Regions from separate parts of the Homo sapiens genome. Here all the other regions are linked to region 1. Evidence: promoter capture Hi-C in 16 types of primary human blood cells and fetal thymus (Javierre and others, 2016). All regions are on one chromosome and are shown on one strand. The core of a region is centred on a gene start or on the middle of the fragment in contact, and the rest is flanking DNA. Distances in the headings are between cores, read along the strand shown. Region 1 holds the start of MRPL42 (mitochondrial ribosomal protein L42). Region 2 holds the start of CEP83 (centrosomal protein 83). Region 3 overlaps EEA1 (early endosome antigen 1). Region 4 holds the start of PLXNC1 (plexin C1). Region 5 has its middle 20 kb from the start of PLXNC1. Region 6 overlaps LOC124902986 (a long non-coding RNA gene). Region 7 has its middle 58 kb from the start of PLXNC1.

Region 1 (3,120 bases), core at 199-2,698:
TCTGCAGGACCCAGTGCAGCTCCTTCCACTTAATGAATACTCAGTAAATGTGTAATTACTCTTGAAACAGTCACTCACAAATGGTACACAGAGTATTCATTCTTTTAATGCTAGTGTGGCTGTGTACACCCTCCAAGGTTCCATACACAAGATACTACATCATTTACAGTACTATCCTGTTTCTGATTAAATGAAATAGTTGTCTGCCCTGAGCCATTAATAATAATAATAATAATAAAGAAATATCAAACAAGGCCTATCCTTAGCCTATTACTCAATTGGAGGAACTCATAAATGCCCTCAAGTCCCAGATAAAATTTCACCATCTTATATGTGTACAAAGTCTTTAACTTTCCAACGTACTTTCACCACCATTTCATTTTGCTCTCGTATTAATCATGTGAGGTATCTTTATTCTGATTCATGAAGAAACTAAAGTACAAAATTTAAACGTCTTGCTTCCAAGGACTTTAGAGTCAGTCACTGCCAAATTGGGAAACTTTAAACAAGTCATTAACTAAACGATCCTCAGTTTCTCCAATGACAAAATGGGGAAAACCACAATCTTCATGGCCTGTTGTGAATAAATGACAAATAACCATTGTTAAATCTTGTTTTTAATAGTCTTCAATGAGTATCCGTGCCCTTCCCCCCAATAGTGATAAAAGAGAATTAGGACACAGGCCCTCTTATTTGCTAGTCTAAACCACTCACACTGATACCTTGCACTGCCAGTACATTAACACCGTTAACCCTGAGCTCATAGGTGTGCTTTTTAGTTTACAACCCACTTTCATATACAATATGTGCTCTGACTTTCACAAGTGTGTGAAGCAGCATCTCCATTTCAGATTAAGAACAAAGGCTCAGAGAGGTCAATCGATTACTTGCTCAGTATATCGCTGCTTAATACATGCGTGGGACGTAAACCCATGACTTCTGACCACGAATAAAACATCTTGGGGGAAATTAGGTCCCCTCTGTCCGAAGCCCAGAGAAAAGCACGCCCTGCTGGGAGTCAGATTATTCACCCCAGGAAGATCATTTCAGAGATCAAGTCCCTCAGCCCGGAATTCAACCCCAAAACAAAAGCTACAGAGCCTCTGAGGGTCAGAGGTTTGAGGAACAGGCTACCAAGAGCACCAGAACTCTTCGACCTAAAGGAGTCCCTAGAGCCACAAGCTGCATCACCTCCCCACGGGCGTCCGCCAGGGAACAAAGGGGGCGCTATAAGAAACGCGCAGCCACATGCCGGCTCTTCTGCAGGAAGGACAAAGGCTGGGGATGCAGGCAACCTCGCCCTGCCGGGAACGACAGGCGGGAGACCTCTACAACTGCCGACCAACACTGTGGGACTGCCCAGTTTCGAGGAAGTCCTCGACAGGAGGAGTAGAGGGAAGCGGTTACCTTGACGGCTTCTCACCACGAACCCGCCATCTTGTTTCAATCCTGGTCCCACGAAACAGCGCTGCGCGCGCCGTCCCAGCCCGCGGGGCATTCTGGGAAATGTAGTCTCCGCGGGAAAGCGGCCCGGGTGCAGAGAGAAAGGGAGGATTGTTGCTATGGACTTTTACCTTTAGTTGGGGAAGCGTGGCCGCAGTGTTACTAAGGTGCCCAGAAAAACAAAATCACTGCCCCAAACACATACCCTTAGAAAGTAACAAGCTTTTTTTTTTTTTTTTTTTTGTGAGGCAGTCTCATTCTGTCACCCAGACTGGAGTGCAATGGCTCCCTCACGGCTCACTGCAGCCTCTACCTCCTGGGCCCAAGAGAGCCTCCCACCTCAGCCTCCTGAGTAGCTGGTACTACAGGCGCACACCACCACACCCAGCTAATTTTTTAATATTTTTGTAGAGACGAGGTCTCGGTATGTTGCCCAGGCTTGTCTCAAGCAATCCTCCTGCCTCGGCGTCCCAAAGTGCTGGAATTACAGGCATGAGCCACCATGCAAACCTATAAGTACTTTTTAAAAAAATTATGTTAATATTCAGAGAAATCGTAGATTGCTCTTTAGTAGATGAGTTAAAGTTTCCCAGGGGAAGAGACATTCCAGAGAAGCCCTGAAATGTGGAGGCTAGGATTTGGACGTTTGAAATCAGAACCTGAAGAGAACCTCCACTCTGAAAACCTGGCACTGTGCCCTCAGAACTGTGCTGGCTACCTATTATGGGAGGAAGTAAATATGCAGAATCTTGGACCTCGCTTTCCATCTTAGGAGGAAGGAAAGACCTCTGGGCCTTTGCACTCTCTGTTCCCATTGCCAGCAATGTGCTTCTCTGACCTCTTCTCATGACCTTACAGGTCTTTCTCAAATATCATCTTAGAAAGGACCACACCATTAAAATAGCCTCACCCACCCTTATTCCATGCCCCGCTTTATTTTCCTTCAGAATATTTACCATTACCTGACTTTATATTGATTATTTGTTTGCTCGTTGAATGTCTCTTTCTTTTTTTTTTTTTTTTTGAGACGGAGTCTTGCTCTATCGCCCAGGCCGGAGTGCAGTGGCATGATCTCAGCTCACTGCAACCTCCGCCTCTCAGCTTCAAGCGATTCTCCTGCCTCAGCTTCCTAATTAGCTGGGATTACAGGTGGCCACCACCACGCCCAGCTAATTTCTGTATTTTTAGTAGAGATGGGGTTTCGCCATGTTTGCCCGGCTGATCTCGAACTCCTTACCTCAGGTGATATGCCCACCTCGGCCTCTCAAAGGGCTGGATTACAGGCGTGAGCCACCACACCCAACCTCGTTTAATGTCTCTTATGCTGGATAATGTAAGCTCCTTGAAGACAGAGACATATGTCTATCTTGTTCTTCACTGTATGCAAACCCAGCATCTCAGACTGTGCTTGGTCTCATTATAGGTCTCCAGGAAGTGTTTGCTGAATGAATGAAAAGACTAGATAACGCTGCAAGTATCCAAGACAGTAGATGATTGGCTGGTAAAGCAGAAGCGGTCGCCTGGAAATTCCCTTCTCCCATGATTTGCAAAATTTTGCTTTTGTATATTTTTCTAAGAAATAATCTATAGCTTTTATTATGTATTCCAGGGAATTGATAAACCCCTCAACAAGTTAAGAACCATATTCCTGAAGTGACTAGTATTGAAAGTAAGTGA
Region 2 (3,120 bases), core at 445-2,944, 990 kb before region 1:
GGTAAATAGGGTTGTACCAATTTCACCTTCACACCAAAAATGCCTGACAGTAATTGTATCCCACACCCCTATCAACAATGATAGACAAAAAACAACTGTTTGGAAGTGGGACAACTTTCCGTTTGTTAATTGAATATTTGTTTTTCTTGGCTTTTTGTATTTTTAATAGATGGGATTTCACCATGTTGGCCAGGGTCGTCTCGAACTCCTGACCTCAGGTGATCCACCTGCCTTGGCCTCCCAGCGTGCTGGGATTACAGGCGTGAGCCACCGCCATTTCCCGAATGATCTTTTTCCTACTGACCAATAATTTGTCATGTATAGTTTACTGGCTACCACAGAGATTTCTGGAGTTGTCTGGCTCCAGCGTTTAAAAGTAATGGTTTTGGGCAACTCTGTGAAATGGAGATAACAATTGCACCTACCTTACAGAAATGTTAGAGTTAAATAAGATAACCTGAAAAAGTACTCCAGTACTTGCCACACAAATGCTCAGCAAATGTGAGCTACTGTTATTATACTAAACACGCACACATACATGAGAATTTCTGGATTCTCTATTCTATCTCCCATGTCTCATCTATGTAATCCATCCAGCAACATTCCATTACCAACTCGCTGTCCTTTTTTTCCCTCCTCTTAAGAGACACGGTCCTTTCTAATGGCCCGTTTTCCCTCATTTCAACAACAACAAAATCACCTCTCAGTTGTCCAATAATAACTACAGCCTGAAAATCATAATCTTGGGGGTAAAAATAAGCTGTACTTCACAAAGCAGTGAGAATCAAAGCCCAACCAAGGCACTGAACAAACGCTGGGGATGGGAAGGTGTCTGTTTCTTCCAACACGTATTTTGAAAGGCTGACCGCCTACTTTGTTTCAGACTTTGGATGATCATGGAAGTTCTCAAAAGCTAGCAACTCCTCTTCCAACTATTGTTTACAGCCTTAAGACAAGTAGTTCCCCATGTGACCCCAGGTGGGCCCTGAACTTGGGATAACCAGGACAGGAGACTTGGAGCAGGAGGTGCGGGGGCGAGGAGGGCTCTCTCCCGGGCGATTGGTCCTAACCCGAGGTTCCCTCGTGGCAAGCTGAGCCGACTCCCCACTCGTGGGCTGATGCCCGAGGCAGACGCGGCAGGCAGGCGGCTTCGGGAGCGCATATCTGCACCCATGGGGACGATGGCAGGCTGGCGAAGGGAGAGAGGTGGCGGCAGGACTACCATTTGAGGCTCTCAAATGGTGTGGGGAAGAGGGAAGGAGAGGCGCGAAAAGGAGGAAAACCCCTGGAGACGCTGTGTCGGGCGGAGGCTAGGGAGACCGGCTTCGCGCTCCAACGACGCGCATCACTCAGACTCCAAGGCAAGTGCCCGGGGCTAGATTTTCCGTCCCCTGGGGCTCTGGGGATCTCTGAGTCCATCCCAGGGCCCTCCAGGAACGCCTTCGGGAGCGCAGCCCGGCCCCGCCGCTGCCGCTGTCACCCGTGGCCGCTCCCGCCTCGGTTCGTTTGTCTCCTCCCTCTAACGGCTCCGGCAGCAACCGGCGTCGGTGGCGTGGGTGACGTCGGCGTGGGGGGTGGGACTTCCTGCTTCGCGTGCCGCTGGGCCAAGGGACAGAGCCCGCTCCTCCAGGCTGGTGGGGCGGTGCGATGAGGCGGCTTCTGGGCCATACGTCAGCACGTGGGGTGGCGCCGCACCCCTGAGGATCCCGGTCCACGCGGAGGAGTGGGGCTTTTCACCGCCGCCGCCGCCGCCCTCGGACCTCTCCCGGGATACTTCACATTTCCCTAGGGACGGGAGCCCGAGGGGTCCGTTCGGCCCTCTTCCTCTCGCTGGGCCGACACCCCGCTGTAGGACCGTAACCCTTAGTCCCAATGCCTCCGTAAGCGGAGTTGAGTGGGTGCCTGTGGTTGGAGCTGTGGAGGTGTCCCCGGTGGCGAGCGCGGCCAGAACTGCGGTCACTTAAGTTTTCCGTGTGCGGGTTGCAAGGAGCGTGCGTGCGTCTGGTATGTAACCTCTCTTTCTGGGGACGGTGTCTTGTTTGTATTTTGGAATACTCATTTTGTCCCTCCACAAACTGCCCTTGAATCCTTTTTTTATTTTCCTGTTAAAGTAGTGGAAGCTCGTGCTAGAAAAGTAGGCAGAGAGACGCACGTGAAACTCTTCATGGAGCTTTTGGATGCACTCTGGCTTGGTGGTTGTGTAGCCAGTTTGGTAATTGGCCAGACGTTTAAGTACCTCCAGCTTAATTTACGATGAAAAAGCTATGCTACCATTTTCCTTGGCTTTGAAGACAATTTGAATGAACAGTGATGTCGACTGTCATTACTGAGATAAACACCTAAAATATGTTAGCATATGCTGGGTTTAAATACTTTGGTTAATCCTCAGTGTCCAACTTTTGACCATAATCAATGGGCATTTTGCTCTTAAGAATATCCACTGCTAAGTATTTGTAAAGCCTTTAGTTAGCTGAAATGAGGAAGCTCTTTCAAATCTTACAGATCTCTAGGATAAGGAAAGACTTGTCTGAATTTCGTGTATATGATATATACTTCATAATCTGTTCAGACTTTAAGCAGCTCTAAAACAGAGTGGGTTGTTAAAGCAGTGCTTCTGTTACCAAGCAACATGTCTGTAAACAAGTCTGACATTTAACTAAAACACAATTAAAGGTATCTATCCTACAGTTACCTGGATTTAGAATTTTCCATATTTATGAATTTAGCCTGTAAGTGGTTAGAATTAATACTCACCTTTTGTATTGAGGTTTGATTTCAAACTCAGTTTGTTCAGAATTGTTAGAATGCTTTATTTATTTATTTATGACTGAGTCTCACTCTGTCGCCCAGGCTGGAGTGCAGTAGCGCGATCTCGGCTCACTGCAACCTCCGCCTCCTGGGTTCAAGCGATTCTCCTGCCTCAGCCTCCCGAGTAGCTGGGATTACAGGTGCGTGCCACCATGCCCGGCTAATTTTTTTATTTTAGTAGAGATGGGGTTTCACCATGTTGGCCAGGCTGGTCTCAAACTCCCGACCTCAGGTGATCCGCCCACCTCGGCCTCCCAAAGTGCTGGGATTACAGGTGTGAGCCACCGCACCAGGCCAGAATGCTTTAAATTA
Region 3 (3,120 bases), core at 224-2,723, 680 kb after region 1:
TATAGGTCAGTTCCCACATGTGGTATAGAGCCTTCTGTAAACCCCACTCCACAGCATCTCACACTCACTGTTTTTCTGTGCATTTGGCACATAGCGTATACTCTCCTGCCCTGTGTAGCTTCCATTTTACATGGCTGTTCTGCTTTTTGGGCGATGTACTCAACTCCCTTAAGTCAAAGACCAGCTTGTACCCTCCTGTTCTGTCTTAGCAGTGTTCTCAATTAATGGTTAGGTGCTGGATTAGTGAAGAACTAGCTGATGTTAATTCTTCCCTGAAAAAAGCCTCAAGGGGTTTAGTGTTCTACTGGCAGTCATTGAAAATTAAGATTTAATTTATATCAGAAAGACGTAACTGGGTTACTGGTAAGAAGTAAACTTTCAGGAAGCTTAAGAATCCTCATAAATAAGATCTTTATTTATTTATTTCATCTTTCTTTTTTTTTTTACTGAGTACTTGCTGTATACAAGCCTACTCAGCAAGGATCCTTTGCTAAATTACGTTTTCTGCCTCCTTTTCAAAGGAGCTGTATCTCCAGAATAAGAAAGATCAGCTTTTTCCAGATCTGATGGAAGAGATCAGTTGGATCTCTTACCCTGCTGATTCTTCGCAGTAGCAGCTGAGAGTGGCAAGGTTCCTACCATACCCATTATCTACCTGTTACCATATTTATCCCCAACTGAAGTGTCATGAGTGAAAAAGCTTCCCCTTTCCCCAACTTCTTCTTCTCAAAATACTTGGGCTTTAAAACAGTCAACAACTATGGACTATGTTAAATGACAATCACTACTTCTACGATATAGATGAGAAGAGGACAGTGTGCTTTCTCAGGATAGAGCCTCATTCTATGTTTGGCTGAATTTTCTCTTTTTGTTCACTTGATCAGGTTGTCAGCTGTGAAGTTGTTATTATTTTTATTCCATGACAAAATAATCCTTCCTATTTGTTTCAGGAAAAACTCTCTCAAATTGTGTTTTTCCCCTACTCTCACACCACAACAATCATCAACACAGAAGACTTCTGTGACCAAACATATGGGGATTTTCCCACACACACCAAGAAGCAGACACCAACTGTGTGTCTTCCAATTTAATTCTGACAGTATCTCCCTAGAGATAGTATCAAATCCCACAGATTGGGGGCTCAATCCCCAAGACTGCTCCCTACAACTCCAAACACCAATCATTAATCCAGGCTTCCAGAACTTCTGACCAACTAGCTAGTTTCAAGTTGGGGTTTTCATGACACCCTCTTTGGGTTCAGTTAGTTTGCTGAACAGCTCACAGAACTCAGGGAAAACTTACTTACATTTACTGATTTATTATAAAGGATATTACAGAGAATACAGATGAAGAGATGTGTTGGGTGATATGGGGGAAGGGGCACAGAGCTTCCGTGCCCTCCCCGGGCATGCCACCCTCCAGGCTCCGTATGTTCAGCTATCTAGAAGTTCCCCAAACCCAGTTCTCTTGGATTTTTATGGAAGCATTCTTTCACCCAGGGTATGAGGCAGGACCCTTTCAGGGAAGAGTCTTAAGACTCACAATCAGAAAATGGGGTGGGGAAGAAGATTAGAGGCCTGCCTAGGGACCAGTGGAAGAAGGGCAGGAGACGAGATTCTGTTTCCTGAGGCCTAACATACCCAACATTGTAACAAAAAACTGTAACAAAGGATGTGGGAGTTGTGATTCAGGAACCCTGGACAAAAACCACTATATCATAACACCATACTATTTATTAATATTTTTAGCATGTCAAGGGACATCATAGAACCTACCAAATGTATATGTATGCATAATGAAGCATTTAATTATATCTCTTTTAAGATTGTTTTCTTTCACACTGCCTTATGACTTTAACCATATATATGTTCTCTGAGTGTATCTGATATGGTCCCTACTTATTTGGTATTCTTTCATATCAACTAGCCAATATTGAAGATGTGATCAACATTCAGCAAATACTTTAAATATTTATTTAGTAAATAGATTATTTTTGGAGGCTTTGGAATTGCTTCCATTTTACTAAATATTTTATATTATAAATGTTTTCTATAAGCAAGAGAGTTAATATTTTAGAATTCTTTCTCTTTTACCTGTCTTACTGAAGGGTATAATATGCTATCTTTTTATAGTTTATTGCTTTCTACAATGTTTATATTAACTATGTTTCTGTTGAATTTACTAAAAACATGGCATATAATAATTTGGGAAAATTGTTTTTGTAAGTCTGTAGAAGAGAAGCTTTCTCTAGCACAGGAGGACTTGATTTCAAACAGAAATCAAATTGGAAATCAAAATAAATTGATTCAAGAACTGAAGACTGCCAAGGCTACATTGGAGCAGGATTCAGCAAAGAAAGAACAGCAATTGCAGGAGCGATGTAAAGCACTACAAGACATTCAGAAAGAAAAGGTATTGCATGTTTCTGACCTAAATCTACAATCTTAGAGTTACAGTTGTCTTAGAGATCATCCAGTCAAACCTCTTATTTAGTACAGGCATCATCCTTATTTTCAACAGCTCTCTCAGAGGGACCTCTAGTTTCTGACACTTTTGATCATTGGGATTTTAATGCTAGGAAGTACTTCTTAATGGCCTCCTTGTTATTTCTACCCTTTTTTCTTACTGCTCTTTAGTTTTACAAACAAGTCAATTTTTCACACCATAGACCCTTGGTTATTGCAGAAAAGATAATATAGTTCCTCAACTATTTCTCATATAACGTATTATCCTTTAGATGTGTGAATGAGATAATAAAAGATCTAGAAATAATTCTTAAACATGTTAAGAATTCTTAAAATTAAGAACCAGATTGTCTAAGGAGTTTATTAAGTTTCAAAGTTGAAAGCATTGGTTTACTAATATATGACCAGTACATTTTAAAAATCACTTTAAATTCTGTATGAAAGAAAAATTCAGATCCTAGGAAAGAGTTTATTTTTTGTTTTATAGTTGAAATCATATATTCCTGTTAGCTGACAGGATATTACTCTGCAGTGTATATTCCCTGAAATTCTTGGTAAATTCTAAATGGTTCAGTTCCTGAAATTTAATTTAAAAATGTTCTGTGGGTGTGGTGATGGTGAAGCTGGAATGAAATTCATGATTTGTGCTTCAAGT
Region 4 (3,120 bases), core at 307-2,806, 680 kb before region 1:
CCCCCGCCCCGCCGCTCGCCCCCAGCTCGTTCTGCCTCGGCGGCGGCGGCGGCTCCCCGGCAGCAGCGCTCTCCGCGGCGCCCCGGGGGCAGGACTTACGCAGTGGCTCTCGGCCGTCTTGAAGTCCCAGCTGACCCTCTTGGCGCGCGCCTGGATCTCACTCATTCTGAAGAGGCAGAGCGCCGTGGTGGTGGGGGAGCGCCGCTCCTGGCCCTCTCCAGCGGCCGCGCTGAACACTCCCGCCCAGACGTCCAGGGCCTCCACTAGGCTGGAGGAGAGGAGCAGGCGGCGGCCGTCGGGGTGGCCGTGGCCGCAGTCGAGGGATGCCTGGCCCTGGAACAGCACCTCGGTGCTCTGCGCGATGCGCGCCATGCTGGGCCAGCCGGTGGCAGCGCCGCTCGTGTAGTTGTAGGGGTAGTAGGGGAAGTAGATGCTGCCGTTCCAGAGAAAGGCGTCCACGAAGTGCAGGCTGCCCGCGCCCTCGCACAGCTTGAGGCGCCCCAGCTCCTGCGTGGCCAGGCTGCGCCCCTCCGTGTCCTTGAGCGCGATGGCCGTGTCGTGGTCGGATGCCGCGGGGTTGCAGCGGCTCGCCGTCTCCGGCTCAGGCAGCACGTAGGTGGCGGCCACCGCCAGGTACCAGCGGTTGTTCCGGCCCGCGCGGTACACCACGCCGGCCGTCGAGCCCTGCGGGTGGCACGACACCACCTCGGTGCCGTTGCGCAGGGAGTTGCGGCTCAGGTTGCCCAGGGGCCGCACCTCGCAGGCGCCCCGGTCGAAGGTCCAGCCGGTGAGCAGCAGCCCCCCGAGGCCGGCCGCCCCCTCGCGGTAGGGCAGCAGCAGCTTGCTGAAGCTGCTCCCGGGCCGGGGCCGCGCGGGGGGCGCCAGCGAGACCGGCTCTGTGCAGTTGCCCGCTTGGTCCCGGTACAGGCGCGAGAGGCTGTGCTCCAGGCTGTAGTCCAGCTGGTCCAGGCAGCTGCCGCTCGCCACAAACACGCCGTCCTCCTGGCTCGCCGCGATGGCTCCGATGGCTTGCTCCGACCGCCACACGGGCTCGTCCGCGCCCCGGCCGGGAGCCGCCAGTGCCAGCAGATAGGCGAGCAGGGGCAGTGGCGCTGCGGGGCGCGGGGGGCGCGGCGGCGCCTTCCTCCGGGAGACCTCCATGGGGCTGGGGGGGCCGCCCCCGGGCAGGGCGCGCGGCGGCGACGGCGGCTCAGGCGCGCGGCAACGGAGACGCGGGCGGCGGCGGCGGCGGTTCCTGCGCGCGCTCGGGCTCCCGCGGCCGCCCCATCCCCGCAGCTCGCCCAGGAAGGAGAGCGGGGAGGGCGGCGCGCGGCAGGCTCGCTCCGGCAGCCTGTGCAGCGGCGGTGGCGGCAGCAAGCCCTGCGCGCTCCGGCACCGTTTCCTCCTCGCCCTCCTTCGCCGGAGAGTTCCTGTGTGCAGCGCTGGCGCTCGCGGGGAGGCGCGGAGGGGAAGGGAGGGGACGGGCGGAGAGGAGCGAGGCGGGCGGGGAGGGCTGGAGAGGTTGGGTGCGCTTGTGCGTTTCACTTTCCCATTGTGAAAGTGGGATGCAACTGGCCCCCTTCCTCATCCTCTCTTCCTCCTCCGCCCTCCGCCTCCTGCCCGCCCGCCCGCCCTCCCTCCACGCCCATCTCCCCTCCCCTCTTGATTCGGTGAGATAGGGAGGAGGGAGGTCTCGTAATTTGGGTTACTGTGTAGGTGGCCTCTTTCATCTATTCATAACAAAGCTCAGCCGCCCGCCGCGGCCGCCGCGGCCGCCACCATCGCCCCCTTGGCTCGCCTGGGGCTCCCGGGGCGCGCTAACGGCGCACGGAGCGGGCTCCCGCGCCCGTCCGCCCGCGGTGCTGCTCCAACGCCCGGTTTTGTTTACGACAGCAGCCGGGTCGGGGATACGCCAGGCGCGCGGAGCGAGGATCCAGGGTGCGAAGGGGTTGCAGCTGAGGCCCCGGGCTCGGGCCACAGGGCTGCTGCGAGAGCGGCTGACAGGTGTGGAGCGGCGAGAGGGAGGCCCCGGGGAGGCGCGCGGGAGACATGGCCGAGCCGGAGACTCCGGGGACCAAGGCGCCCCTGTGACAGGGTGTGGGTTTCCCCGGGTCGGATGAGTGAGGTGGCAGAAAGGCAGGCGCCACACTCTCGTTCTGGACAATCCCCAGGGCCGGAGCGCCCATATTTGCAAAGGTTCTCTAATCTCCCTTGGCAACAGAGTCCCAGGCTCTCAAGCCTAGCACTTGGAAAGTTCTGCTCACCATCTAACCTAATGAGCGGGGCTAACATTTACTGAGCACTTACTACGTGCCGGGTGCGCTTGTGAACTCACCACATGGGTTAAGACTCATAATTCTCATAACAGCCCTATTAATTAGTGACTGTTATTGTCATCCCTACTTAGTAGTCCAGGAGAATGGTTATAGAAAGGTTGTGGAACGTGCTGGCATTCTACTGCTGGTAGATATCAGAGCCGAGATTCGAATCCATATCTAGCCCCAGGGCCTCTTACATACCTGGCTCTAGTTAAGTGCCACCTGTGGCCATTGCCATAATCCCCCAGAGATCATTCTCTGTAGTGAGACTGAAAAGTTCCTCAAGTTAAATGCACCAACCAGCCCCCGCCCTGCTTTCTACTATTAGACCCAAGTCCCCGTATTTCCCTCGAGGCTCTCCATCTGTCTCATCATTACCCACTTTTATCCTTTGGACCCCCTGAGGTCTCACCACCTCACCCAGAGGGTGAATAACAGCTGGGTTGCCCCCACAGCCGCCAAGAATTTCTGAAGCACAGGGAATCATTGCCCACTGGGGAATAGGTTCATGATTTCTCGGAATGGGGCTTCCCAGAGGATGCACAAATGCCTCCCAGCTTCCCGGGGCAGCTGCGGGCACCATCAGCACCCTTACAGTCTGGCAGATGAGCCAGGGGGTGCATAGGAGTGGAGGGTGCTGAGGACCTCTATGGATCGTTGGGAAATGATCTCTGTTCCTTCCCAGGCTATTTCCAGACCCCAGGCCCCAGGGAGGGCAATTGGCTGCTATCCCCTTTCTTCCTTCCCTCCAAGTTCCCCAGCTCGAGATGCTGTTTTGGGAAGGGAAAGGAATGAGGTGGCT
Region 5 (3,120 bases), core at 325-2,824, 660 kb before region 1:
AATAGCAAAGACTTGGAACCAACCCAAATGTCCATCAATGATAGACTGGATTAAGAAAATGTGGGACATATACATCATGGAATATTATGCAGCCATAAAAAGGATGAGTTCATGGACATGGATGAAGCCATAAAAAAGGATGAGTTGTAGGGACATGGATGAAGCTGGAAACCATCATTCTCAGCAAACTATCACAAGGACAGAAAACCAAACATTGTATGTTCTCACTCATAGGTGGGAATTGAACAATGAGAACACTTGGACACAGGGTGGGGAACATCACACACCGGGGCCTGTCGTGGGGTTGGGGAGGGAGGAGGGATAGCATTAGGAGATATACCTAATGTAAATGACGAGTTAACGGGTGCAGCACACCAACATGGCACATGTATACATATGTAACAAACCTACATGTTGTGCACATGTACCCTAGAACTTAAAGTATAATTAAAAAAAAAAGATTTCTTATTTCCCAGATCCTCCCTCCTCTCTCTTTCCTACTCCTTAGCTTGCCCTCTCATCATTTCATCACTAGGCTATTTTAGGTGAGACTGGTGGTCCTGGTCCCAGGTTCATTGCCCACCTCCTCCAACCCAGCCTTTGCATTGCCCTTTCATTGTCTTCCGATATGGAAAGCTGATGGGATTACTTCCTGTTAAAAATCCTTCAATGACTCCCCATTGTTTCCCAATTGTTTTATACCATGGCTTCATTGGGCCCCACTCTTCTTGGCAATACCTTCCTACACCAAACAAGGGCACTGGCTGCCAGAGGTGACCAGCCTAGGAGCTCCCTCTGTCAGGTTCCACCCAGCAGTCCCAAGGGCTGAGAGGGCAGGGTAGTATCTCAACACTCTATGGAACACTTATTGGGAAGCCCTGACTTAGAGGATACAGCTTATATTTCTTAGCTTGATATATAAGGTCCCTGCCTGACCATTTTTGCAATATTGTGTCTTCCATTCCTTCATGTGCACATGTGACTGGGCTCTGGGCTGAGCTAGATGAAGAGTAGCTCCTTGGGGCCAGCTAATCTGAACTCTGGGGATCTATTGGCACAGGCTGATAAGCCTGCAGATGATTGTTGCTGTTTTGGTCTGTCTAAAGGAAGAGGTTGATGCTAGCCTTCTATGGAAAGACACAAAGGAAAGTAGATGAAATTAGTATGCTTACTATTCCTCAGACATTCCTTAATAGAGAGCAGGGGTAGTCAGCAGCTAGAAGGTATACGCTGACCAAAAGTTGATGACATTCAGGGCATTTATCTTGGGGTCCCATTCCATGAATGGAGCTAGACCCATTCACCTTCGGGTCTAGTGGCAGAGTGAAACACAGAGTCAGAGAGAAGGGCTTTCTTACTCTCCTTGCATCAAAGGGAGGATAGAGAGAATCAGGGAAGAAGCTACATTCTCAAAGATATTCCCCTGGGGACTCCCCAAAATGACTGGAGAGATTGAAGGAGGAAGAGGTTGAGTCCTAGAGTTATACAAGTTAGGGATAATCAGGCAGAAAAACTCAGGGGGTATTAGTTGTGACCCCATTGATACCCACTGGGGAGACCTGTGCAAAATAGTTTTCAGAAGCTGTATACATCGGTTGTGATGTGTTTAGCTATAAGGGGAAAAAACCCCTAATTACTTAGAACATAGGCAAGTAGAGGTTAATCTTTTCTTGCACAAGAAGGAGCCCAGTTGCTAGTACTGGTTGCTATTCAGTGTTACTATTAAAGAGCCCCTCCAGGCTTTTAATATCTTTCTCCTGTCACAAGATAACTGCCACAACTGTAAACATTGTATTTGTTTTCAAAACGAGGGGAAGGCTACTTTCTCCTAGCAAGACTCTGTCTTTTTTTTTTGCCCAAACAGAAATCCCTGAGCAGACTTCCCCCTTAGACGTCATTGACCAGAATGTGGTCACATGCCCACACTATACCAATGTCTGGTGAAGAGAAAAAGAATGACCATAATTGGCTCATGATTGGCTCATAAGCCCAAGTCTGGAGGAGGAACTTACCTTCCTTAAGATTATCCCAGATACACAACTAGGTTCTCTTAGCAGGGAAGAAATGAGTGTCCGGTACGTAAAGAATGCTTGTGTATTGTTACATCCTAAAAGAGTCACAGTTCTCTGATGCTGGAATTCTCCCCGTCCCTCTTGCCATTGCCTAAATCCAACCCATGCTTTGGGTTCCCACTCCAGCATCTTCTCTGACTCTCATTTTCATTCTCCAGAAATGACCAGCCCTTTCTGGGTGTCACCGACATACCTAGTCCATATGCCTACACTTGCTCTTGTTACACTCCATCGCGATATGTATTTGTCTAGTGTCCCTGTGACCTCAGAACTCCTTGAAGGAAGTTCATATTATATTCATCTTTGTCTCTAATATCTAGTATGATGCCTGGTACATAGTGTTCAGCATTTGTAGAAGAAATGTTGCGTAATAAAATCCAAATAGACGTAAGAAATCCAATATAGAAAATCATCATGTTAGCACTGACATCTTCAACCATGAAGGACCACTGGGTATGTACCATAGACAGTGATTCAGTTCAGCCACACCTATTTATGGGGGATCTATTGTCTGCCAAGCACCAGGGGCAACACAAGAGAAGGAGAACACAGTTTCTGTGGGAAGACCGTATGCAGAGCAAAGATAACTAACAAACAAAAATAGCATCTGATAAGTGTCTCATTAGAGCTACAGGAGAGCGTGGCGGTGGGGAGACAGAGGACACTGGGACAGTGGTAGAATGGTAATTAAAATCCACAGGTAATTCCAAGCCTTAATTTAATCAACACTTTCAACCTCCACCGGTCCACAACTTCTTAGTGATGTAGGAAAATTGTCAGATTTGAATGTCATTTCCTCGGGGAGCCCTGCCTATCTGTTGGTGCACCTGTGACCCAGTAGTAAAAGAACCACATGGTAAACAGCCAAAGAGGAAACCAGGGAGAAAAGGGGACCTTGATAATTCACAGCTTAGATAGTCAGCTCTTGAATAGCTGAAAGCTGATGCAGTTTTAACCAGCGATTTGAAGATCAAACGATTCCATATTTTACAATTGTACTGCATTTGAGGTTTTTGATAAGATGTGTTATTGGAAAAGAGGTAACTAA
Region 6 (3,120 bases), core at 170-2,669, 640 kb before region 1:
TGGCTTGGGGGTTGGGGACCCCTGGTCTAGGGCACTTGTAAACTGTTTGCAGAGTAAAACATGAATCCAGCTTCGGTGCCTGCCTTCATGCAACTTATAATCTCTGCAGACAGATGAATGAATGATTGAGTAACATCATAAAACAGTGTTATTCCCGGTGTACTTGGAGAGGAAATAATGGTGAGGAACGGCGGGCGTGGAGTTCAGATGATCAGGTTTTATTTAAATCATTATGTATTTTATTTTCAATTGTATTATATAAACATAACTATCCCTTCCAACCTGTAATTCCACAGACACTGCTCAGGAGACTGATAAAGTTGATTTAAAGGAAATAATAATAGACCTAGTGGTATTAGGATGTAGAAAAATCACCAACTTGGTAAATAATAGTAATAATGATTATAACAGCCAACGCTTATAAAGTGCTTAGTATGGGCCAAGTACAATTTATAAGTGTTTTTTGTATTTTTGTATAATCTTTATAACCACCATGCAGTACAATTGTCATCCCTATTTTGCCAATAAGGAAACTGAGCAGCGAACTTATGTAACTTGCCTAAGGTCACACAGGTACTGGATTTGAATCCAGACAGCTGGCATCTGCGTGCGTGCTTAGAGAAACCAAGGTGTGGGACCCCCAGGAGATAAGGAGCAAACCAGCCTTGGGAGGTGAGAGTCAGAGACAGTTCAAGGCAGAGGAGGTGTTTAAAGTAGTTCATGAAGGATGAGTACTGTGGACCAATGGACAGGGGGCAAGGGTATGTTAGGTGGGAGGGCTGGGCCACAACAGGTGCACGGCTTGTTTGGGGTTGAGAGTGGTGGGCTGGGAGTGGCAGGGTGGTGTGGCAAAGGGCATGTGACGTGGGAAATGAAACAGGGTTCATACCACTGAAGTCCTCATGTGTCTGGCTGGACTTTATCCTCTGAGATACTGACTAAATTTTCACTCTGGAAAGAGACTCTGATGGCCGTGGAGGGGGCTGGCCATGTGGGGGACTGGCCACGTGGGGGCTGGATGACTCAGAGAGGCCTGGGAGGGGCGCTTTTACTCAGTTGCTCAGGAGATGGAAACTTCATGAGTCAGAAGGAACATCTGCCCCCATGATCGCTCTCCATTGAGTGGAAGCAGTTATGAGATTGGTGAGATTGTCTGGTGGGGCCAGGGGAACACAACCTTACCCCTCCCTTCTCCCTCCTCCTCCACGCTGCAAAGCTCTGGTCTCATAAAGGGACCCATGCTGCCTGCCTCAAGCTGAGGCCCCTCTCCAGTCCTAGTTCCAGATACCCAGGAGACCTTCCTTACCCTCTCACTACACTGGCTGCTCTCTTTCCTAATCCTCATGGATGAGGATGGGGGTCGGGGGTGGGGGGCAGTGGGCAGCCTGGCATCCTCCCTGAGGCTGCCTGGGTGTGGATCTGCAGATACAATCTCTATCCTCCCAGGTCTCAGGACCTGGGGGCTTGGGGAGGGTGGAAGCCCAGTTTTCAGCCTGAGTACTTACTAGCTTATTCATCAACCCAGCTGTATCAATAACAAATCAGTTACTATATTTCAGTCCCCATCTAGTACCAGGTCTGGTGTGATGAAGACTAAAAGGAAGGCATGCAACTGATTCACAACAATAGCCATTCCTTACCACAACCTCATGCATTATTATTGTCCCCATTTGGATAGGAGGAACAGGCTCAAAGGGCTTAAGCAACCTGCGGGAGGTCACAGTTAGTGAATGCCAAAACCAGGAATCAAGCACATGGCTTCTCTCACTTAAAAAAAAAACAAAAACAAAAACAAAAAAACAAAAAACCCCCATATTTCAGGTAACTAAGCTGGTCTTTAAAAGTCCCTCATATACTAGTATAATTTAACTGTTAGAAATCAGAAAGTTTAAGGAAATATTCTGTCTGCATAGTTTTGGATGTGCAACTAAAGTCTTACAAATAAAATAATCATGAATGATGAAATGATAATTATCCGAGAAAGGCAGCTGCCTATTTGGATAGACTTACACATTTTATAGAACTCAGTGTTAACACTGGCCAATTTTTTCCCTCTTGGTTCTTCTCTGAATTTCAATGAATTTTTCATCAGCATATTAATTAGTGCAAATCTTGGATTGCACTTTGTAATTAAGATCTTATGTGTTCCTCTAGATCTTACGTTTGAGTTAAATGTTAATTTTTCAAAGAGAAAAATTAGGAATTTGACAACTGCCTTCCTTCCTGGCAATAGAATATACATGCTGCCTGTCAAAAAAGATGGAATGCCTGAGTTTCTAAGATAGGGAGTGATAGATTATTCATCATGAAATTGCAAACTCATTTGCCCCATATCACAATCAATTGCTGACAGCAGTTTTTCTGGAAACCCATTTGTGAAACGCATTTGGGAGTCTAGTCACCGAATGTTAACTCGGATTCCTTGACTTGCCATTAGTCTTTGTAACTTTTCCTTAGTCCATGTCCTGATTTGCTCTAATTTCTATCAATTTTAAAGTCACCAGAAGAAAGTTATGTAGTATAAGTTCATTTTCCCATAGTAATAATAAAGTTCTTACCACATGCTCTTGAGAGGCAATTCTCCACGGATCGCTCTTACTTCTGCACATCTTATGAGCAGGAGCACTGACTTTTTGTTGTGGGTTATCTTTTCAAAGATGCTTATTAGCAAACAGCCTTAGAAGACAGAGATAGTATCTTCTCCTGGAGCAAAGAGCAGGCATGCTGACTGCCCATTATAAAAGATTTGGGTTCTCTAAGCTCAGGGTTCCCCTCCTGTAATGCAGCCCACTGTATGTGCCGGTGATGCCTTTGTGTCACTCCATAGGAACTGAGCTCAGGGAACTAGCACAAATACTGATGCTACTGCTATAGCTGTTGCTGTGAGTAATAAAGTCCTTTGCTTCTGACCAGGGGTCTCACGTCACCCACCAGCTTCTATGAAATGTGGCAGGCTAACTTGCGAGCTTGCAAGTAGGATAAAAATTCCAGAGCTTTCACAGTCCTTGACACATGCCAGGCACTGTTGTGTGTGTGTGTGTCCTTATAGCAACTGTATGAGGTATTATTCATCCTCATTTTACAGATGAGGAAACTGAGGCACAGAGACATTATTCAAAT
Region 7 (3,120 bases), core at 242-2,741, 620 kb before region 1:
GGCCCTCCACCCCAGGAAGATTATGGGAGGAGCAATTCCAGCTCTTCTTTCTAGTCTTCCTTGGGAAAATGGGGAGAGGGCATGAAGTCCCCCTCCTCAACACTTTCTGCCTGCCCCCAATGGCACCCATCCCCCTCCCCTCCACTCAGCTGAGAGTGCCTGCCCCACCATTGCTTGCTCTGTGACCAGGGTGCAACTTCAAATCAAGGGGAACGAGAAGATACTCCCTTTGGTCTTGGATCCAGGACAAGTCTTAAAACCAGCCTTCAGGGCAAGAATGCCATTCGTGCGATCTTTGATCCTCCTGGATGATTTCTCCATTGGTTTGGAATCCAAAGAAGAGAAAAAGTAGGATTCACCAACACCTTCAAATCCCCAAGGCTGTGGAGAAATCCTGGAAGCCAAGCCTGAATGACAGTAACACTTTCCTTGTTTTCCTTGCCTGTTGCCTATTAAAGAACAAGCTCAGAATTTATCACTGAGAGCACACCTATTGTTGCCCCAAACAGAGGTCTATAGCGTAGCAGGTTGGGAAGTCTTGAAAGGTATGAATAATACTTTCTAGAGAAGTGGTCAGGAGCTTCCTCCCCAAATACTCCAGCATTCTGTTCCTGTGGTAGATGCGGGGATGCACACCCAGGTCCCCTTATTAGACTAGTGCACCACCACACAGCTACTGGGAGTGCTGGCTGCTGCCTGATCTCAGGCACGCTCTTTCTGGAGAATCGTCCTCCGCCAGTGGGAACCTCCTCAGCCAGAGATGCTTGGGAGAACCCCTCACCCTCAGGGGTGGTCTGCACCAGTGACTGGCAGGCACAGGGTTATAAAGGCCTGGTCCCCTTGCCTTGAGGTCGGACAATTCCTTGGTGCCGGTCACGCTCCAGAGCTCCCTGTGGGATGGGGCTGAGGCTAGACTTCAGCTGAACTCACATCTCTATCTTCTTCCTCTGTCTCACCTGCTTCCCTAACTCCTTTACATACTTCTCCTGAAATCCGTTCACACGAGAATACCAATTTCATAGGCTCTGTTCCTAGGGAACCATCTCTGAGATGATACCCAAATAGGAAATTCTTTTCCTAATCACGATCCTTGGAGAATGTGGGAACTGACTGATCACTCTTTGCAACTGCCTCATAATTTGAAGACTTTTTAAGTGCCTACTCCATGAACCACTATTTATGGTTTGATTTTTAACATTGGCACTGCCCAGGATATGGGGGTCTAGATCTGAACTCATTCAGCAGGAACGGGACCATGAAAAGATTCTCTCTCAGTGCATCACTGCTACCATTAACCAGAACAAAGATGTGTGATTTCACCATCTCAAAGTCCTTTCTTATTTGTATATGATTTACTAGCATAACTCCATGGGAGAAAGTTGTATTTTTTTTTTTTAAATGAGGAAACTTAAAGTAAATACAGCTTAAGTGGGTTTCTTAAGTTCCTGGAGCAAGCTAAAGACAGGACTGGAGTAGCAAAGACTAGAAAGAGAGTTTCTGACCTTCAGTCTTAGGCTCATTCCATGACCTCCATCCTTGCCGCAACGTATGCCCTTCTTGTATGGACCAAGATACTTTATGATGCTGTGTCAGTGGTGGACTGTGTTTGGCTGATAACAAGAGAAACCGCAGATGGTGGTTTGAGCAATCAATGCTTCATTCCTTCACAACCCAAGAGGTCTGGGAGGGAAGCAGCCTGGGGTTGGCAGGCAGCTTCACAGTCATCAGAGTCTTAGATTCCTTTAGACTTTCTGTCCCTCCATCTGGGCTATGTCCTTTATTTTCTTTGTCCAATATAGTTGCTGGAGCCCAGGCCACCACACGTGAGTTCTAGATTGTGGGATGGAGGAAGGAAAGAAGAGAGGCCTCTTTTCTCTCTGTAAAGAGACTTCCCATAAGTCTCACTCCACACTTCTGTTCGCATTTCACTGGCCAGACACATGGCCACACCTAGAGCCTAGTGAAGTTTAAGCCTCAGAGCCATTCAGTTGCTGGAGTCCCTTCCAAATGTTTATGCCTGGTTTTGTATTCTTAATTTTAAATTATTTTCAATGATTTTCAGGAACAATTTGTGGAGCCATTATGGTGTGCAACTCACCCTCTTGGACATAGAAAAGAGCTAAAAGTAGGGAACTAGAGATTTATTGTGCCAGTTTTGTTTTAGGGGCATTAAACCAGAGAATGCATGATGTATCATAATAGTTTTGTAGAAAGCATGGAGGTGGTCTTTAAATACAGTCATGCACCACATAACGATGTTTTGGTCAATGATGGACTGCCTATGCTATGGTGGTCCCATAAGATTATAAAACTATATTTTTGCTGTACCTTTCTGTGATTAGATATGTTCAGATGCACAAATACTTACCATTGTGTTATAGTTGCCTGCAGTGTTCAGTAAAGTAACATGCTGTACAGGTTAGCAGCCTAGGAGCAAGAGGTGATGCCTTACAGCCAGCCTAAGTGTGTAGTAGCTGTACCATCTAGATTTGTGTGAGTACACTCTATGAGGTTTGCACATGAGGAAATCGCCTAACAATGCATTTTTTTCACAATGTATCCTGTTGTTAAGCCATGTAGGACTGTAGTTATTTCTTATATCAGTCCTGGAACAGGATAGAGTCACATTTTAAATACCATACTTTGTTGAATTGAAGACATCGTTGATAATAGATATATCATTATTTTATGTATCAGTAAGAAAAGGAAAACACTGCCAAATACATGATGACTTTCCATAGGCTATAAAATTCATTCTAAATTAAAAGATGTTAAAATGACAAAAGGGCACATTATAATATCAGTGATATATGGTGGTAACCATTCAATGAATACATTTCTGTAGGGACATAAAATAATATACTATAGAATGTAAGCTCTCTGGTGACATAAGAACATGGATAGAATTTAAAGAATGTTCATTTGAGTTGTTAGCTAACTGGGTAAGGATATATAGTACCATAGAAGAAAAAATCCCTGAGAATCTCATACATAGTTCTGTGATCAAACTGTCTGAAGTAGCTTTCTGGAGTCTGAGTTGATATGATTTCACCAGCTATGCTTCCTGAGTCCAGTGGATACATATGAGGCCCCTGTGAGACACAGGTTGGTGAGGGGCCC

Evidence for each region. The method cuts DNA at HindIII sites, captures the fragments that hold promoters and counts their contacts. A CHiCAGO score of 5 or more calls a contact.
Region 2: the fragment with the promoter of CEP83 here is called in contact with the fragment with the promoter of MRPL42 in region 1 in 1 of 17 cell types (total CD8 T cells); the score reaches 5.4 in total CD8 T cells.
Region 3: a contact is called between a fragment that was not itself captured here and the fragment with the promoter of MRPL42 in region 1, in 5 of 17 cell types (naive CD4 T cells, non-activated CD4 T cells, fetal thymus and 2 more). The highest score is 9.6, in naive CD4 T cells.
Region 4: a contact is called between the fragment with the promoter of PLXNC1 here and the fragment with the promoter of MRPL42 in region 1, in 10 of 17 cell types (naive CD8 T cells, total CD8 T cells, non-activated CD4 T cells and 7 more). The highest score is 8.3, in naive CD8 T cells.
Region 5: a contact is called between a fragment that was not itself captured here and the fragment with the promoter of MRPL42 in region 1, in 1 of 17 cell types (fetal thymus). The highest score is 7.8, in fetal thymus.
Region 6: a contact is called between a fragment that was not itself captured here and the fragment with the promoter of MRPL42 in region 1, in 5 of 17 cell types (non-activated CD4 T cells, activated CD4 T cells, naive CD4 T cells and 2 more). The highest score is 7.6, in non-activated CD4 T cells.
Region 7: a fragment that was not itself captured here is called in contact with the fragment with the promoter of MRPL42 in region 1 in 3 of 17 cell types (fetal thymus, total CD4 T cells and activated CD4 T cells); the score reaches 6.0 in fetal thymus.

The regions. Positions count from the first base shown.
Region 1 is chr12:93,465,842-93,468,961 of GRCh38, reverse strand. MRPL42 (mitochondrial ribosomal protein L42) reads right to left here and starts at 1,448. Exons shown (of 6, transcript NM_014050.4): 1 at 1,408-1,448. RefSeq lists enhancers at 1,227-1,496, 1,557-1,616. The HindIII fragment of the contact is 2,939 bases long and covers 1-1,667 here.
Region 2 is chr12:94,458,441-94,461,560 of GRCh38, reverse strand. CEP83 (centrosomal protein 83) reads left to right here and starts at 1,694. Exons shown (of 17, transcript NM_016122.3): 1 at 1,694-2,004. CEP83-DT (CEP83 divergent transcript) reads right to left here and starts at 1,558. Exons shown (of 1, transcript NR_027035.1): 1 at 1-1,558. RefSeq lists an enhancer at 1,228-1,277. The HindIII fragment of the contact is 10,845 bases long and covers 1-3,120 here.
Region 3 is chr12:92,781,242-92,784,361 of GRCh38, reverse strand. EEA1 (early endosome antigen 1) reads left to right here. Exons shown (of 29, transcript NM_003566.4): 23 at 2,227-2,412. Among named protein-coding and RNA genes, the nearest start is that of PLEKHG7, 80 kb to the right of the region's middle. The HindIII fragment of the contact is 1,541 bases long and covers 703-2,243 here.
Region 4 is chr12:94,147,013-94,150,132 of GRCh38, reverse strand. PLXNC1 (plexin C1) reads right to left here and starts at 1,556. Exons shown (of 31, transcript NM_005761.3): 1 at 100-1,556. The coding sequence starts at 1,161. RefSeq lists silencers at 1-69, 730-969, 1,100-1,329, 1,400-1,649, 1,660-1,789 and an enhancer at 430-529. The HindIII fragment of the contact is 5,941 bases long and covers 1-3,120 here.
Region 5 is chr12:94,127,247-94,130,366 of GRCh38, reverse strand. No RefSeq gene overlaps it. Among named protein-coding and RNA genes, the nearest start is that of PLXNC1, 20 kb to the left of the region's middle. The HindIII fragment of the contact is 7,025 bases long and covers 1-3,120 here.
Region 6 is chr12:94,107,304-94,110,423 of GRCh38, reverse strand. All of the region lies in intron 1 of LOC124902986 (a long non-coding RNA gene), which reads right to left. Among named protein-coding and RNA genes, the nearest start is that of PLXNC1, 40 kb to the left of the region's middle. RefSeq lists an enhancer at 843-1,122. The HindIII fragment of the contact is 6,207 bases long and covers 1-3,120 here.
Region 7 is chr12:94,088,582-94,091,701 of GRCh38, reverse strand. No RefSeq gene overlaps it. Among named protein-coding and RNA genes, the nearest start is that of PLXNC1, 58 kb to the left of the region's middle. The HindIII fragment of the contact is 6,898 bases long and covers 1-3,120 here.